Regions from separate parts of the Homo sapiens genome. Here region 2 is linked to region 1. Evidence: promoter capture Hi-C in 16 types of primary human blood cells and fetal thymus (Javierre and others, 2016). All regions are on one chromosome and are shown on one strand. Each heading gives the region's core, a stretch centred on a gene start or on the middle of the fragment in contact. The rest is flanking DNA. Distances are from core to core; before and after follow the strand shown. Region 1 holds the start of SHLD1 (shieldin complex subunit 1). Region 2 holds the start of LOC105372514 (a long non-coding RNA gene).

Evidence for each region. The method cuts DNA at HindIII sites, captures the fragments that hold promoters and counts their contacts. A CHiCAGO score of 5 or more calls a contact.
Region 2: a fragment that was not itself captured here is called in contact with the fragment with the promoter of SHLD1 in region 1 in 6 of 17 cell types (naive CD8 T cells, non-activated CD4 T cells, total CD4 T cells and 3 more); the score reaches 8.3 in naive CD8 T cells.

The regions. Positions count from the first base shown.
Region 1 is chr20:5,747,561-5,755,182 of GRCh38, reverse strand. It overlaps SHLD1 (shieldin complex subunit 1), which reads right to left and starts at 4,782. Exons shown (of 3, transcript NM_152504.4): 1 at 4,704-4,782. RefSeq lists an enhancer at 4,907-4,956. The HindIII fragment of the contact is 6,647 bases long and covers 4,490-7,622 here.
Region 2 is chr20:5,707,948-5,715,569 of GRCh38, reverse strand. LOC105372514 (a long non-coding RNA gene) reads left to right here and starts at 7,019. Exons shown (of 3, transcript XR_937224.1): 1 at 7,019-7,141; 2 at 7,331-7,390. RefSeq lists a silencer at 693-987. The HindIII fragment of the contact is 3,710 bases long and covers 1,106-4,815 here.

The sequences.
Region 1 (7,622 bases), core at 3,533-6,032:
AGAGATATTTAGTACCTATTCTCTCTAAAGCCTGTTACTTAGAGGCTTCATCTATACAACAAGAACCTTGGCTCCCACAAACCCCCTTAACTCAAGCATTTCTCTTCTTTTTTCTTTTTTTTTTTTTGAGACAGGGTCTCGCTCTGTTGCCCAGGCTGGAGTGCAATGGCACGATCTCGGCTCACTGCAACCTCCACCTCCCAGGTTCAACCAATTCTCCTGCCTCAGCCTCCCGAGTAGCTGGAATTACAGGCATGTGCCACCACGCCCAGGTAATTTTTGTATTTTTAGTAGAGATGGGGTTTCACCATGTTGGCCAGGCTGGTCTTGAACTTTTGACCTCAGGTGATCCGCCCGCGTCGGCCTCCCAAAGTGCTGGCATTACAGGCGTGAGCCACCACGCCCGGCCCAACTCAAGCATTTCTTTATGCTGATTTCAACACTTCAGGCAAAGCAACCAATTGCCAATCAGTTTGAATTCACCTATGACCTGAAACCCTCTCCCCAAACATTTATACATTTTGAGGCCTAAAATGTATAAAACCAAGCTGTAATCTAACTACCTTGGGCACAAGTTCTCAGGACCTCCTGATGCTGTGTTACGGGCCATGGTCACTCATATTTGGCTCGGAATAAACCTCTTTAAATATTTTACAGAGTTTGGCTTTTTTCATCAACAATGGGAAAGGAGGTCAGACATACCTTGTTATAACCACCTCTTTTTGGAGTTTAGGCACAAATGACCAGCATTAATGTTAAAAATAGAGATCATGGCCAGGTGCAGGGGCTGACACCTGTAGTCCCAGCACTTTGGGAGGCTGAGGCAGGAAGATCACTTAAGCCCAGGAGTTCAAGACCAGCCTGCGCAACATGGTGAAAACCCGACTCTACAAAAAATACAAAAACTAGCCAGGCATGGTGGTGCCTGCCTGTAGTCCTAGCTACTCAGAAGGCTGAGATGGGAGGATTGCTTGAGCCCAGGAGGTTGAGGCTGCAGTGAGCTGAGATGACACCACTGCATTCCAGCCTGGGTGACAGAGCAAGACCCTGTCTCAAGAAAAAAAAATAGATCATATGACTGACAAAACAGACTCTGTGGCAATAAGATACCAAATTATGGCTAGGTGTGGTGGCTCATGCCTGTAATCCCAGCACTTCTGAAGCGGCGTCGTTTGTCTGCGGTAATACCCAAGGTTCACTGTCTCATGACAAGGAAATCAAAGACGCTAACACACAAGGAGTGTGTTTAAGAGAGGAAAGTCTAATAGGCAAAAGAGAAAAGCTCTCCCATGCAGAGGGAGGGGGGTTCCGAACGGATCTCCCCCATTTGGGGCAAGATGAGGTTGGTTTTATAGATGAGCTTGAGGAGCCAGTGTCTGATTTACATAGGGCACAGAGAGAGGGTTGGTTGGACCAGGTGTGCCTTTAACAAAGCATGCTAAGAGGCTGGCCATCCCACCCTAATCTTTTATTATACAAATAGAGATTTAACCTGGCCAGTGCCATGTTGCTTGTACACGTGGCGACAAAGTAAAGGGAAGAGGAAACCTCTATGTTGAATATACCTGGCTTCCAGAAATCCCTTTTCTAGTGGCACAGCTGCCGGCATTTACCTATGCAAGCTTCCAGCTTGCTTATCTACGCTTGCAGCTTGATTTTTCAGGCTGTTTTTTGTTAGAAATGATTTGGGGCTGCTTTTTATTAAAAGGAAAACTTTACCAAGGACTCCCTAACCCTCGCTAACTGCCTAATTAATTTCTTTTTAGCTTCTGTATCACTTTGGAAGGCCGAGGTGGGAGGATCCTTTGAGACCAGGAGTTCGACTCCAGCCTGGGCCACACGGCAAGACCCTGTCTCTATGTTTTATATTTATATATATTGTTAAAAAAGATACCAAATTATAAACAAGACCTAGGCCATGCAAGACATAGGTTAGGATACATCCTACAGACCATAAAATCTTGTTAAATGGGATTTTCTTTTTTTATTAACCTGGTATAATGTGGCTTATCTTCCAACCTGACACTGGTATAGCATCACATGACAGATAGCAAACCCTGAATGAAATAAAAATATTTTATGTCGGCCAGGTGCGGTGGCTCATGCCTGTAATCCCAGCACTTTGGGAGGCAGAGGCGGGTGGATCACTTGAGGTCAGGAGTTTGAGACCAGCCTGACCAACATGGTGAAACCCCCCCATCTCTACTGAAAATACAAAAAATTAGCTAGGCATGGCAATGCGTGCCTGTAATCCCAGCTACGCCGTAGGCTGAGGCAGGAGAATCGCTTGAACCCAGGAGGTGGAGGTTGCAGTGAGCTGAGACTGCGCCACTGCACTACAGCCTAGGTGACAGGGCAAGACTCCATCTCAAAAACAAACAAACAAACAAAATACAAAAATTAGTCAGGTGTGGTGGTGCACACCTGTAATCCCAGCTGCTCCAGAAGCTGAGACGGAGAACTGCTTGAACCTGGGAAGCAGAGGTTGCAGTGAGCCGAGATCGCACTACTGCACTCCAGTTTGGGTGACAGAACAAAGACTCTGCCTCAAAAAAAAAAAAAAAAAACCCCAAAATATATTTCTTTGACATATTTTAAAATGGCCCTACAAAGCTACAAAGCTGTCTTTTGTAACAGAAATTTGCATCTGTAGAGAATCTCCATTAATGCAGCCAGGATTTCCTTTTCTAGGCCTTTCCCAGATCCAGGAAAGATTAATTCTGACACCTAAATTTCCAAAAAGAGACATTTACCATCTATTCTCTCTTTTTTGTTTTTTTTTTTTTTGAGATGGAGTCTCACTCTGTCATCCAGGCTAGAGTGCAGTAGTGCGATCTCAGCTCACTGCAACCTTTGTCTCCTGGGTTCAAGCAATTCTTGTGTCTCAGCCTTCCAAGTAGCTGGGATTACAGGCGCACGCCACCGTGCCTGGCTAATTTTTTTATTTTTCGTAGAGATGGTGTTTCATCATGTTGGCCAGGCTGGTCTTGAACTCCTGACCTCAAGTGATCTGCCTGCCACGGCCTCACAAAGCGTTGAGATTACAGGTGTGAGCCATGGAGCCCAGCCCATCTCTAGTCATGGCACCTAGCCCATCTATTCTCTGAGGCTGCTACTCACACTTCATCTACGTAACAAGGACCTTGAACCACACAACTCCCTTATCTTAGTTCAAGCATTCTTTTCTACTGACTTCAAGTCTTTAGACAAAGCTTAACTCTCTCAAGCAACTGTCAGCTAAAGAATCCCTAAAATCCACCTAAGACTTCTAAGACCACCCTTGGACATATCCACCTTTTTGGGTCTAACCAATGTATACCTTCCATGTATTGATTTATGTCTTTGCCTGTTAACTCCTGTCTCCCTAAAATGTAAAAAAAACAAACTATAACCCAACTGCCTCGGGATCACTTACTAAAGACTTTTTGGGTTTGTGTTTTCTCTCTGGGCGATGGTCAATCATACTGGCTCAGAATAAACCGCTTTAAAATAGTTTACAGAGTTTTATTTATTTGCTAACAGTCTGACACATGATACAAAGACAAGCTTTGAAAATATTATACATAGTATAAGAAGATAGCCGGGCGTGGTGGCTCACACCTGTAATCTCAGCACTTTGAGAGGCTGAGGCAGGTTGATCAAGAGCTGAGGAGTTCAAGACCAGCCTGGCCAAGATGGTGAAACCTCGTCTCTACTAAAAATACAAAAATTAGTCGAACGTGGTGGCAGGCGCCTGTAGTCCCAGCTACTCGGGAGGCTCAGGCAGGAGACTAGCTTGAACCTGGGCAGCAGAGGTTGCAGTGAGCCAAGATCGTGCCACTATACTCCAGCCTGGGCTACAGAGTGAGAGTCATGAGACTCCGTTTAAAAAAAGAACAAAAGTCATGAAAGAAGCTAGTCACAAAAACATTGACATTATACTTAATGAAAGAAGCCAGCTGCACTGTATGATTTCATTTATATCAAACGTGCGAATTGGCAAGGCTATACAGACAGAAAGTATACTAGCAATTGTCTAGGACTTGAGGCGGAGTGGACGTGGTGAATGTAGAATGACTGCTACTGGAGGCAGGATTTTTCTTTGGAGTGATGAAAGTATTCTAAAATGAGATCACAGTAATAGATGCACAATTCTGTCAACAACAACAAAAAAACCCTTAATGTTACCCTTTATTATTTATTTTTGGGTACGTTGTCTTGCTCTGTCTTCCAGGCTGGAGTGCAGTGGCGCGATCTGGGCTCACTGCAGCCTGGAACTCCGGGGCACAAGCGATTCTCCCACCTCAGTCTCCTGAGCAGCTGGAACTACAGGCGAATGCCACTATGCTAGGCTTGATTTTTTTTTACGCTTTAAATGGGCAAATTTTACTTAGTAGGTGAATAGAAATTTCCCAAGAAAGCTGTTTTTTTGTTTGTTGGTTTTTTAGCAGAACCTCCTGAAGTGGCAGGTCACTGAAAAAATTTAAAAAAAAACAACAAAACCGAAGCTTATCCATACTCACTATCCACAAATTCCCAAAATTCCCCAAAGCACAGGCTGCAGACACCGTGTGTTGGGGCGGAAGGGGCGGGGAGCTAGCAGGAAATCCTGACATGCCTAGGAAAGCCTCCATAACTTCCTAATTGAGAGAGAACGATCAGATGCATTGCTGTGACCCCCGCCCCCACCACTCCAACCCCCCCCCATCCCATCCCGCGCTTACCTCTCCTCCAAAGCACTCCAGAAAACTGAGGAGAAAAGCCGCCAAGCCCCCCGACACACTCACCATCCGCAACCGGAACGCGGAAGCAATGGCGCCATCTTTTTTATGGGAAATGTGAGGTTCGAAGGAAGTCACCGGAGCCATCCTTACTGCGGGCAGTGAAGGGCAATGGAAGCCGGTCGCGGCCATGTTGACTGAGGCTTTTGGCCTGTCAATGAGGCTTGCCACATGTGGCTATTTTGGGCAATTTCCTGAGGAGGCTTGTCGATAAATGTGCTTGGTAAACCCTAAGGGAACAGAAAAAATATTCAAAAATTTAAATGTTGGCCGGGAGCGGTGGCTTACGCCTGTAGTCCCAGCACTTTGGGAGGCTGAGACGGATCACTTGAGGCCAGGAGTTTGAGACCAGCCTGGGCAACATAGGGAGACACTGTCTCTACAAAAAAAATTTTTTTTTAATTAGCGAGGCATGGTGGCACATGTCTGTAGGCCCAGGTAGTTGGGGGGCTGAGGTGGGAGAATTGCTTGAGCCTGAGAGGTCAAGGCTGCAGTTGGCCATGTTCTTGCCACTGCAGTCCAGCCTGGGCAACAGAGCTAGACCTTGCCTTTTAAAAAAAAAAATTCGTCTGGGCTCAGTGGCTCACGCCTGTAATCCCAGCACTTTGGTAGGCCGAGGCAGGAGGATCACCTGAGGTCGGGAGTTCGAGACCAGCCTTACCAACAGAGAAACCCTGTCTCTACTAAAAATACAAAATTAGCTGGGTGTGGTGGTGCAGCCTGTAATCGCAGCTACCCGGGAGACTAAGGCAGGAGAATCGCTTGAACCCAGAAGGTGGAGGTTGTGGTGAGCCAAGATCGTGCCATTGCACTCCAGCCTGGGCAACGAGAGCGAAACTCCGTCTCAAAAAAAAAAATAAATAAAATTCAATGTCTTGGAGAGGGTGGGGTGGCATGCCCCTGTAATCCCACTGCTTTGGGAGGCCAAGATGGGAGGATTACTTGAGGCAAGGAGTTCAAGACCCACCTGGGCAACACAGTGGAGACCTTGTCTCTACAAAATGGTTTTGTTTTTTTTTTTTTGAGACGGAGTCTCGCTCTGTTGCCCAGGCTGGAGTGCGGTGGCGCCATCTCGGCTCACTGCAAGCTCCGCCTCCCGGGTTCACGCCATTCTCCTGCCTCAGCCTCCCAAGTAGCTGGGACTACAGGCGCCCGCTACCACGCCCGGCTAATTTTTTGTATTTTTAGTAGAGACGGGGTTTCACCGTGTTAGCCAGGATGGTCTCGATCTCCTGGCCTCGTGATCCGCCTGCCTGGGCCTCCCAAAGTGCTGGGATTACAGGCGTGAGCCACCGTGCCCGGCCTACAAAATGGTTTTAATAAATAAATAAATAAACTTGAATGTCTACATTTTAAAAATATGAAAAGTAGAAATTAAAGATGAGGATGAAAATATTGTAATATTCTGATGCATGCAGATAACTACATAACTGCCACAACTGCAGGACCACAAAAAAGAGACTGTCTAAAGACAAAATTACAAAATTAAGATTTAGCTTAAAGATCTAATTGGCTTTTGTTTACAATTCTAGAATCAGGCAGCATCTCATTCTATAAGATTGAATGTTCCAATGAGCTGAGCAGACAAGGTTAGCTTCATAGGCAGAAAAGGGGCTAAAGAATGCAGAAAGAGATTTGAACAAAAAGCAAATTGATCGTCCTTTTTTTTTTCTTTTTTTTTTTGAGACAGTCTTACTCTGTCGTCCAGGCTGGAGTGTCCTGGTGCGATCTCAACTTCCATCTCCTGAGTTAAAGTGATTCTTGTGTGTCAGCCTCCCTAGTACCTGGATCACAGGCGTGCACCACCATGCCCGGCTAATTTTTGTATTTCTAGTAGAGACAGGGTTTTGCCATGTTGGCCAGACTAGTCTTGAACTCCTGATCTCAAGTGATTTTCCCGCCTGGGCCTCCCAAAGTGCTGTGATTACAGCCATGAGCCACCGCACCCGGCCCTGCAAATTGATCATTTCAAAGTTACTTTCCTTGTAGGGTTAAAACAGAGAAGACTTCCTTATTATATTTACTCAGATTGACTGGAATCTCCCGTTTTCTGGAAGATGGGCTTGTTTCAAAGTTCAGTTTGATTACATGGCACTTAGCACAAGTAACTCAGTTCTGATTTGGCCTGGCCTGCTGGGGCCTAGTGGAGGAGGTCAGACCAAATCAATTGCCTCTTATAAAATTTAACAAAACTGAGGGCTCTTTTCCCCTTTCACCATTTTCTTGAAAGAGTAGTGTATACTCATAGCCTCCTATCGATGCCTAAATTGGAATAATAACCCATAAATTAGGAGTCCTGGACTTAAGATAAATATTTTACCTATACACTATTTTCTTTTCCTTTTATTTATTTATTTATTTATTTATTTTTTGGAGATGGAGTCTCACTGTGTCGCCCAGGCTGGAGTGCAGTGGCGCGATCTTGGCTCACTGCAACCTCTGCCTCCCGGGTTCAAGCAATTCTCCTGCCTCAGCCTCCTGAGCAGCTGGGATTACAGGCATGTGCCACCATGCCCAGCTAATTTTTTTATTTTTAGTAGAGATGGGTTTTCACCATGTTGGTCAGGCTGGTCTCGAACTCCAGACCTCAGATGATCCGCCACCTTGGCCTCCCAAAGTGCTGGGATTACAGGTGTGAGCCACCATGCCCGGACTTTCTTTTCCTTAAATACTCCATGCTTGCCTTCTCTCAATTCTGAGCTCTTCCCCCATGCAATTTCTTCCCTTACGAACACTCTTCTCTCTTCTTTGATGTTTATCTTCCTTACAATCTCAGCTTTAACCAATTTTTCCTCCAGGAACCTTCTCTGACTTATCTGAAAAGAGTTAGTGGTCCCTTGCAAGAATAGCTCACTTTCCTCT
Region 2 (7,622 bases), core at 1,711-4,210, 38 kb after region 1:
CTTCTCACTAAGACCTCCTCACATGGCCTTTCCTGCAAGCCAGGAAGAAAGCCTTCATCAGAAACCAGATCAGCCAGAATCTTGATCTTGGACTTCTAGAATCAAGAACTGTGAGCAAATAAAATTGTGTTGTTTAAGCCACATAGTGTTTAGTATTTTGTTATGGCAGCCTGAGTAGACTAAGACATGCGTCATCTTTCATTATCACTGGTTGAAGATTTCCCTTGAGGGTGCTGCAGGTGGCTTGAGGTGGGGAGCCTTGTCAGCACATACAGAACCTTCCTCCCTGGCTGCAGGTGAACTGGGAGTGGAGCCAATGGCACATGGAAAGGCCACACTGAGTGTGCTGTCCCATTGTTTCTAATCTTCGACTTACAGATGCTGCCACATTGACTATTCTATCCATGTGCTTGTTTTGCACACGTTGCGCTATAAATTAGGGATAAAGTTGCTCCATCAAACGGTATGGATGCCCAAATTGTTCTCCTAAAGAGATTATGTCCATTTACATTCCACCAACAATATCTGTTTTTCCACGCCCTTTCTGATACAGTTTATCAGTCATTTTGATCTTGCCAGCCTCTTAGGTAGAACAGTGTGTCATTGTGGTTTTCACAGGTAAATGTCTTCTAACTCAGTGTAACAGAGTGTGAGGCAAAGGAGGGGGAAGAAAGCTTCCCTGCTTCTTTGGCAACCTCAGCTCATACATGAATTCTTCACTGAGGACACGGATACACCAGCAACCTCAAAGGTTATAGTGTCTTTGTCCTGGTTAGGGCAGGAAGCAACTCCCCTTCAGTATATTGTCTGACTTCCCTGGTAACCATGGTAACAATGTCAGTGTCAACAAAGTCAGCAGAAGTAGCTTCACAAGCATCAAAGAACTTAGAACAGACTAAAGCCCAGGAAACTACAGTGGGAGTGGGGGCAGGGGTGGTGTAAGGGTACATACTGCATGGTAGTAGCTATGTTTGTGAGCTCACCTAAGTTACTCCTGTTCATTTCCAGAAGAGGTAGATTCAGAGACAGAGAAAAGCCACATGTGCTGTTATAGAGTTCCTGTAATTTTATCTCCGAATTCGTTCTACAGCTATTTTACTAAGCTTCATCATAGACATATATTGCTGTACAAGGGAGAAGGACTCTAATATTCAAGCAGTTGAAAAACATTATTTGCTGTCAACTCCACTATTCCTATAGATGAACTAGAAATGGGATGACTGTGTAGAGCACTCAAGGTCAAAAGGAAGGTTGCAGGGAATTTATGGGAAAATCTGGGAAACACAGATCTAAGGACATGTAGGCAAAGGGCTGTAAATGGATAGGACTGTATAGTGAGAGTTCTGGCCAGGCACAGTGGCTCACACCTGTAATCTCAGTACCTTGGGAGGCTGAGGTGGGAGGATCTCTTGCGGCCAAAGAACTCGAGACCAGCCTGGGCAATATAGTAAGACCCATCTATACAAAAAATAAAAAAGTTAGCTGGGCATGTGGTATGTGCCTGTAGTTCCAGCTACTCAGGAGCTGAGGTGGGAAGATGACTTGAGGCTGGGAAGTTGAGGCTGCAGGGAGCCATAATCACATCACTGCACTCCAACCTCGGGGCAGAGCAAGACCCTGCCTCAAAAAAAAAAAAAAAAAAAAAAAAAAAAAAAAAAAAAGAAAAAGAAAAAGAAAAAAAGAAAGAAAAAGAAATTTCCCGGGTAAAAGTTTAAATGCCTATTCTTTCATTTTTAAAAAACATTTTACTTTTTCTTTTGAGTCTCACTCTGTCACCCAGACTGGAGTGCAGTGGCCTGATCGTGTCTCACTGCAACCTCTGCCTCCTAGGTTCAAATGATTCTTGTGCCTCAGCCTCCCAAGTGGCTGGTATTACAGGTGTGTGCCACCACTCCCGGCTAATTTTGTTGTTGTTGTTGTCATTTCTTGTAGAGATGAGGTTTTGCTATATTGTCCAGGCTGGTGTCAAATTACTGGACTCAAGTGATCCATTCACCTTGGCCTCCCAAAGTGCTGGGATTACAGGCATGAGCCACTGCACCCAGCTGATTGTGTGGTTTAAAAACATAAATTATTTTATCAGACAATAATTCTGAGGGAGACTCCATTCTAGAGGCTGGAAAGTCCAAGATCAAGGTTCTGCTAGGGTTTCTAATGAGGCTGCAAATAGCCACCTTCTCTCTGCATGGCAGAGAGAGAGAAAGTGAGCTTTCTGGTGTCTCTGCTTTAAGTGCATGAATCCTATCAGAACAGGTACCCACCCTTATAACTGAAGTTAATCTTAATTACCTCCTTATATAGGACCTGTCTCCAAACACAGTCATATTGTGGGTTAGGGCTTCAACATATGAATATAGGGGTGCACAATTCAGTCCATAGCAGATGGAATAAACATATTTGATACAACTGAAAGGATAATTCATAAAGTAGAAGATAGGTCAGAAGAAACTATCCAGGATATAGCGCGGAAAGACAAAAAGACATAAAGCACACAAGACTTGAGAGGAGATCTAGAGGATAATGGAAGAAGGTCTAGTATATATTTAACCCGAGTCTTAGAAGAAGAAAAGACAAAGAATGAGGCAGAAGCAACATTTGAAAAAATATATACCTAAGAATTCTTGGAACTAATGAAGGACATCAACCCACAGATTCATGAAGCCTAACAAATCCCAAAGAGTATAAATTTTTTTAAATTAACGCCTAGATATGTTATGAAGACACTTCAGAAACCAAAGAGAACAATTTTAAAGTATTCACAGGAAAAAGAGATTCCTTTCAAAAGACTTATTTACAGGAGCTAGAAGAGAATGGAATTATATCTTCAGTTGGCTGAAAGAAAATAACTGCCAATGTAGAATCCTACTGACGACAAAAGTATCCTTCCAGAACAAAGGCAATTACAAGTACAAGTTGGGGGTAAAAGGCAACATAAAAACATTTTAGACAAACTGAACAAGAAGACTTCAACCACCAGCAAACATGCATTAAAGGAAAATCTAACAGGCATTATTTCGGGAGAATGAAAATGATCCAAAATGAAAATCAGAGGTGCAAGAAGGAATAAAGAGCAAATAATTGCTATATATGTGAGTAATTTTAAATAAGCATTCAGTATACAAAACAAAAATAGGCGGGGTGCAGTGGCTCATGCCTGTAATCCCAGAACTTTCGGATGCCAAGGCAGAAGGATCACTTGAGGTCAGGAGTTCAAGACCAGATTGGCCAACATGGTGAAACTCCGTCTTTACTAAAAATACAAAAATTAGCTGGGCATGGTGGCACGTACCTATAATTCCAGCTATCTGGGAGTCTGAGGCACAAGAATTGCTGGAACCCGGGAGGCAGAGGTTGCAATGAGCCCAGAACGCACTGTTGCACTCCAGCCTGGGCAAGAGAGTGAAACTCCATCTCAAACAAACAAAAACAAAATAATAATGTCACATGGAATCTTAACAGAATTAAAATATAAAGGGAGACAATTGTTTCAATGTCATGATGAAGATTAGAGGTTAGAGGATTTCAGATTTACAACAACAAAGTTATTTTATGCATGCATGTATGTATGTATATATGTATGTATGTATTTTTTGAGATGGAGTCTCACTCTGTCGCCCAGGCTGGAGTGTAGTGGCGTGATCTTAGCTTACTGCAACCTCTGCCTCTCAGGTTCAAGTGATTCTCCTGCCTCAGCCTACCAAGTAGCTGGGATTACAGGTGCGTGCCACCATGCCCAGCTAATTTTTGTATTTTTAGTAGAGACAGGGTTTCACCATGTTGGCCAGGATGGTCTCGATCTCCTGACCTCGTGATCCACCCACCTCGGACTCCCAAAGTGCTGGGATTACAGGTGTGAGCCACTGTGCGCGGCCATGTAATTTTTTATTTTTTTTTTGAGATGGAGTCTTGCTCTGTCGCCCAGGCTGGAGTGCCATGGCACGATCTCGGCTCACTGCAAGCTCCGCCTCCTGGGTTCATGCCATGCAATTTTTTAGAGATGAGGTCTTAGTAGGTATGTTGCCCAGCCTGGTCTTGAACTCCTGGGCTCAAACCATCCTCCTGCCTTGGCCTCCCAAATTGCTGGGATTACAGGTGTAAGCCACCACGCCCGGCATTCTTCTTCTTTTCTAAGAGTAGAAGTGTTTTTGTAGCTGTAAGGGTAGAATACCTAAAAATCAAGGAGAAAATTCAATGTTTGATTACATTAAGCATATTTCTAGAAGTATGGGACATGTCTTTAACTTGTTTCAACTTTTAATATCCATTATGAGTAAATTAGGGGATAAAAGACACGTAAGACTAATAAAAATAAATTCAGATCAGAATGAGAGAAGACCTGGAAGACAGTGTGAGAAGGTCTAGTATATATTTAACACAAGTCTTGGAAGAAGAAAAGATAAAGAGTGAGACCCTGTTCACAACCATCAATAATAAACAAAAGAATAAAACACCAATTAAGCAGCCCACCCCAACAGACAAAGTAATTTGACTGTGGATACCCTTGGTGAGCTCACACTCCCTTCTTTTGTCTAGGTACCAATTCTTCACTAAGTTTACATTGCAATTCATCTCCCCTATCTAATTAATGAGATTATATTCAATTTCTGTTCAGAAATTGTCTTATGTAAGAGTCAGTGTTTGGTGACACAAAAAAGTAGTAAAGAATCAAGGAACATCCAGGGTCTTTGGAAACTGCTGGCACATCAGATATCAGTGGCATTTCTGAGCCTGCTACCTGCTTATTCCTGGAAGTCTCTGCAGGGTTGCCGACCAGAGGTATCATTTTCTCTCTGACCTCCTGTCTCTCCTGAAGCTTTTGTTCCATGTTGATCACATTACTGGGGTGTTCTATTTTAAGGCTAACCTTAAATGACTTGAATTCTTTTGCAAAAGCAGAGTTGAACAATTGGTTTCCTTCCAGCAGGCCTTCTGATTTATCTGTTCCATCAATGGAGTGGACTGTCAAAAGGATGACCACAGCGTATGGTGGGAAAGTGGACAAGACCCCTCCGTTTTCAGGACAGGCAGCTATGTCCCAGCTTGTGCACAGCAAATCCTTGTGCCCCCAAAATCTGCACCTAGAGTAGTTTAACTTTTTATTATTTTTATTATTATTATTATTATTATTATTATTATTATTATTATTATTAGAGATGGGGGGTCTCACTATACTGCCCAGGCAGGTCTCGAACTCTTGGCGTAAAGCAATCCTCCCACCTTGGCCTCTCAAAGTGCTAAGATTACAGGTGCAAGCCACCATGCCTGGCCCATGGTGTAGTTCTTTTGTTTTGTTTTGTTTTGTTTTTGTTTTTTGTTTTGTTTTGTTTTTGGAGACAGAGTCTCACTTTGTAGCCCAAGCTGGAGTACAGTGGAGCAATCTCAGTTCACTGCAGCCTCAATCTCCTGGGCTCGGATGATCCTCCCACCTCAGCCTCCCAAGTAGCTGGAAGTATAGGTATTGGCCACCATATCCAGATAATTTTTTTTATTTTTTATTTTTGTAGAGATGGGTTTTCACTATGTAACCCAGTCTGGTCTCAAAGTCCTGGGCTCAAGCAATCTGCACACCTCAGCCTCCCAAAGTGCTAGGATTACAGGTATGAGCCACTGCCATGGTGTAGTTTCAAATGGCTGCACATTTTCAATTTACTGAGCGGAGGCCAGGCAAAATATTATCTGACTTGGAGTAACTGTCATCAAGAAAGGAGTGAGCTACTCTTGCAGCTCAGCCACATGAGGGATGAAGTCTCCAACTCCCAATCCCCCTTGAGCTTCTCTCAACAGCCTTAGGATATCTGGCTTCACAATCTCTTTGTCCCTTCATCTTTTCTCCACTGTTCTCTAAGCACTCTATGGATTGGATGCCATCCACTTGCACACGGCCTTCTAACATCCATGCCACCTCTGTTTTTCTAGGCACACGTGTTAGCACTTAGGCGTAGGAATCCCCGTGAAACTGCAGTCTGAAAAGAGGGGGTAAAGAGATTTGCTCAGCAACATTTCCTGTGCTGTTCCCTTTTCCCACATAAGTACTTCAACATGTTTCTAGTGGGGAAAATATTTAGTCCCAAACTCTTTGGTCAAGGTAAAATCTATTTTTTTTTAGAACAATAGTTCAAAGTCTGGGTGCGGTGGCTCACGCCTGTAATCCCAGCACTTCGGGAGGCTGAGGAGGGCAGATCACCTGAGGTCAGGAGTTCGAGACCAGCCTGGCCAACATGGTGAAACCCTATCTCTACTAAAAATACAAAAATTACCTGGGCACGGTGACTCACGCCTGTAGTCCCAGCTACTCAGGAGGCTGAGGCACGAGAATAGCTTGAATCCAGGAGATGGAGGTTGCAGTGAGCCGAGATCACGCCACTGCACCCCAGTCTGGAAACAGAGTGAGACTCGGTCTCAAAAACAAAACAAAACAAAATCAGTAAATTGATTCAGGTGGGCACAGCGGCTCATGCCTATAATCCCAGCACTTTGGGAGGCTGAGGCAGGAGAATCACTTGAGCCCAGGAGCTGGAGACCAGCCTGGGCAACACAGTGAGACTCCATCTTTACAAAGCATAATAATAATAAATTAGCCAGGTGTGGTGGTGCACGCTTGTAGTCCTAACTACTTGGGAGGCTGAGATGGGATAATCACTTGAGCCCAAGAGTTCAAGGATGCAGTGAGCTATGATCATGCCACTATACTCCAACCTGGGTGGCAGAGAGAGACCCTGTCTTTAAAAATAGATTTAAAAAAATTAATTGATTCAAACATATTTTGAGTAAAATGTGCCCAAATCATGATTTTGCAATAAATGCTATGCAGCCAACCACACGATATTGGTAATATAATATAATATTTGCTATTATATAATACCATATGTAATAGATAACATAAAGTTATTGTGGTAGATTCAGAGCCCATGGATTATAAACCAACAATAAAAGAGCCAGGACTGAGAGATGACAAGATGCCAAGGAGTAAAAAGTCAATAACGTTTCAATTTCCTAAACCTTCACATTTTTTAGGCTTCCTGGGATGGTGCAGCTGTAGAGTTAGATTAACCCACGAATAATGTACCAGCATGGACCATTCTTCCAGCTTTCCAGTAGGGATGCAGCCAACAACTGTAACATCACCTGTGTCACTGATAAGGTAACTGATAGAGATTAGGTAGAACACCTACGGTTTTATCCCGTAAGTAAAGGATTCAAACCAAGTGGCATCCAATACTCAGAGGGATGTGCCAGGTATACCTTCTGTGAATTGATAGCCTTGCAATATTCTAAATGTGACCCTTCTTTTTCTCATATTCTAATGCTAATGCAACTCTTTGTTTTTCAGGGTTTTTTTCTCCAAAGACTAAAGTGTCTGAACACAAAATAAACACATAAACCTCACAAGGTAAAGAATTTTACTGGGTATGGTGGCTCATGCCTGTAATCGCAGCACTTTTGGAGGCTGAGGCAGGAGGATTGCTTGACACCAGGAGTTCAAGACCAGTCTGGTGGCAACATAAAGAGAAACCCATCTCTACAAAAAGAAAACAAAAATAACTGGGTCCAGGAATTCAAGGCTGCAGTGAGCTATGATTAGGTCACTGCACTCCAGCCTGGGTGACAGAGTGAGACTGTCT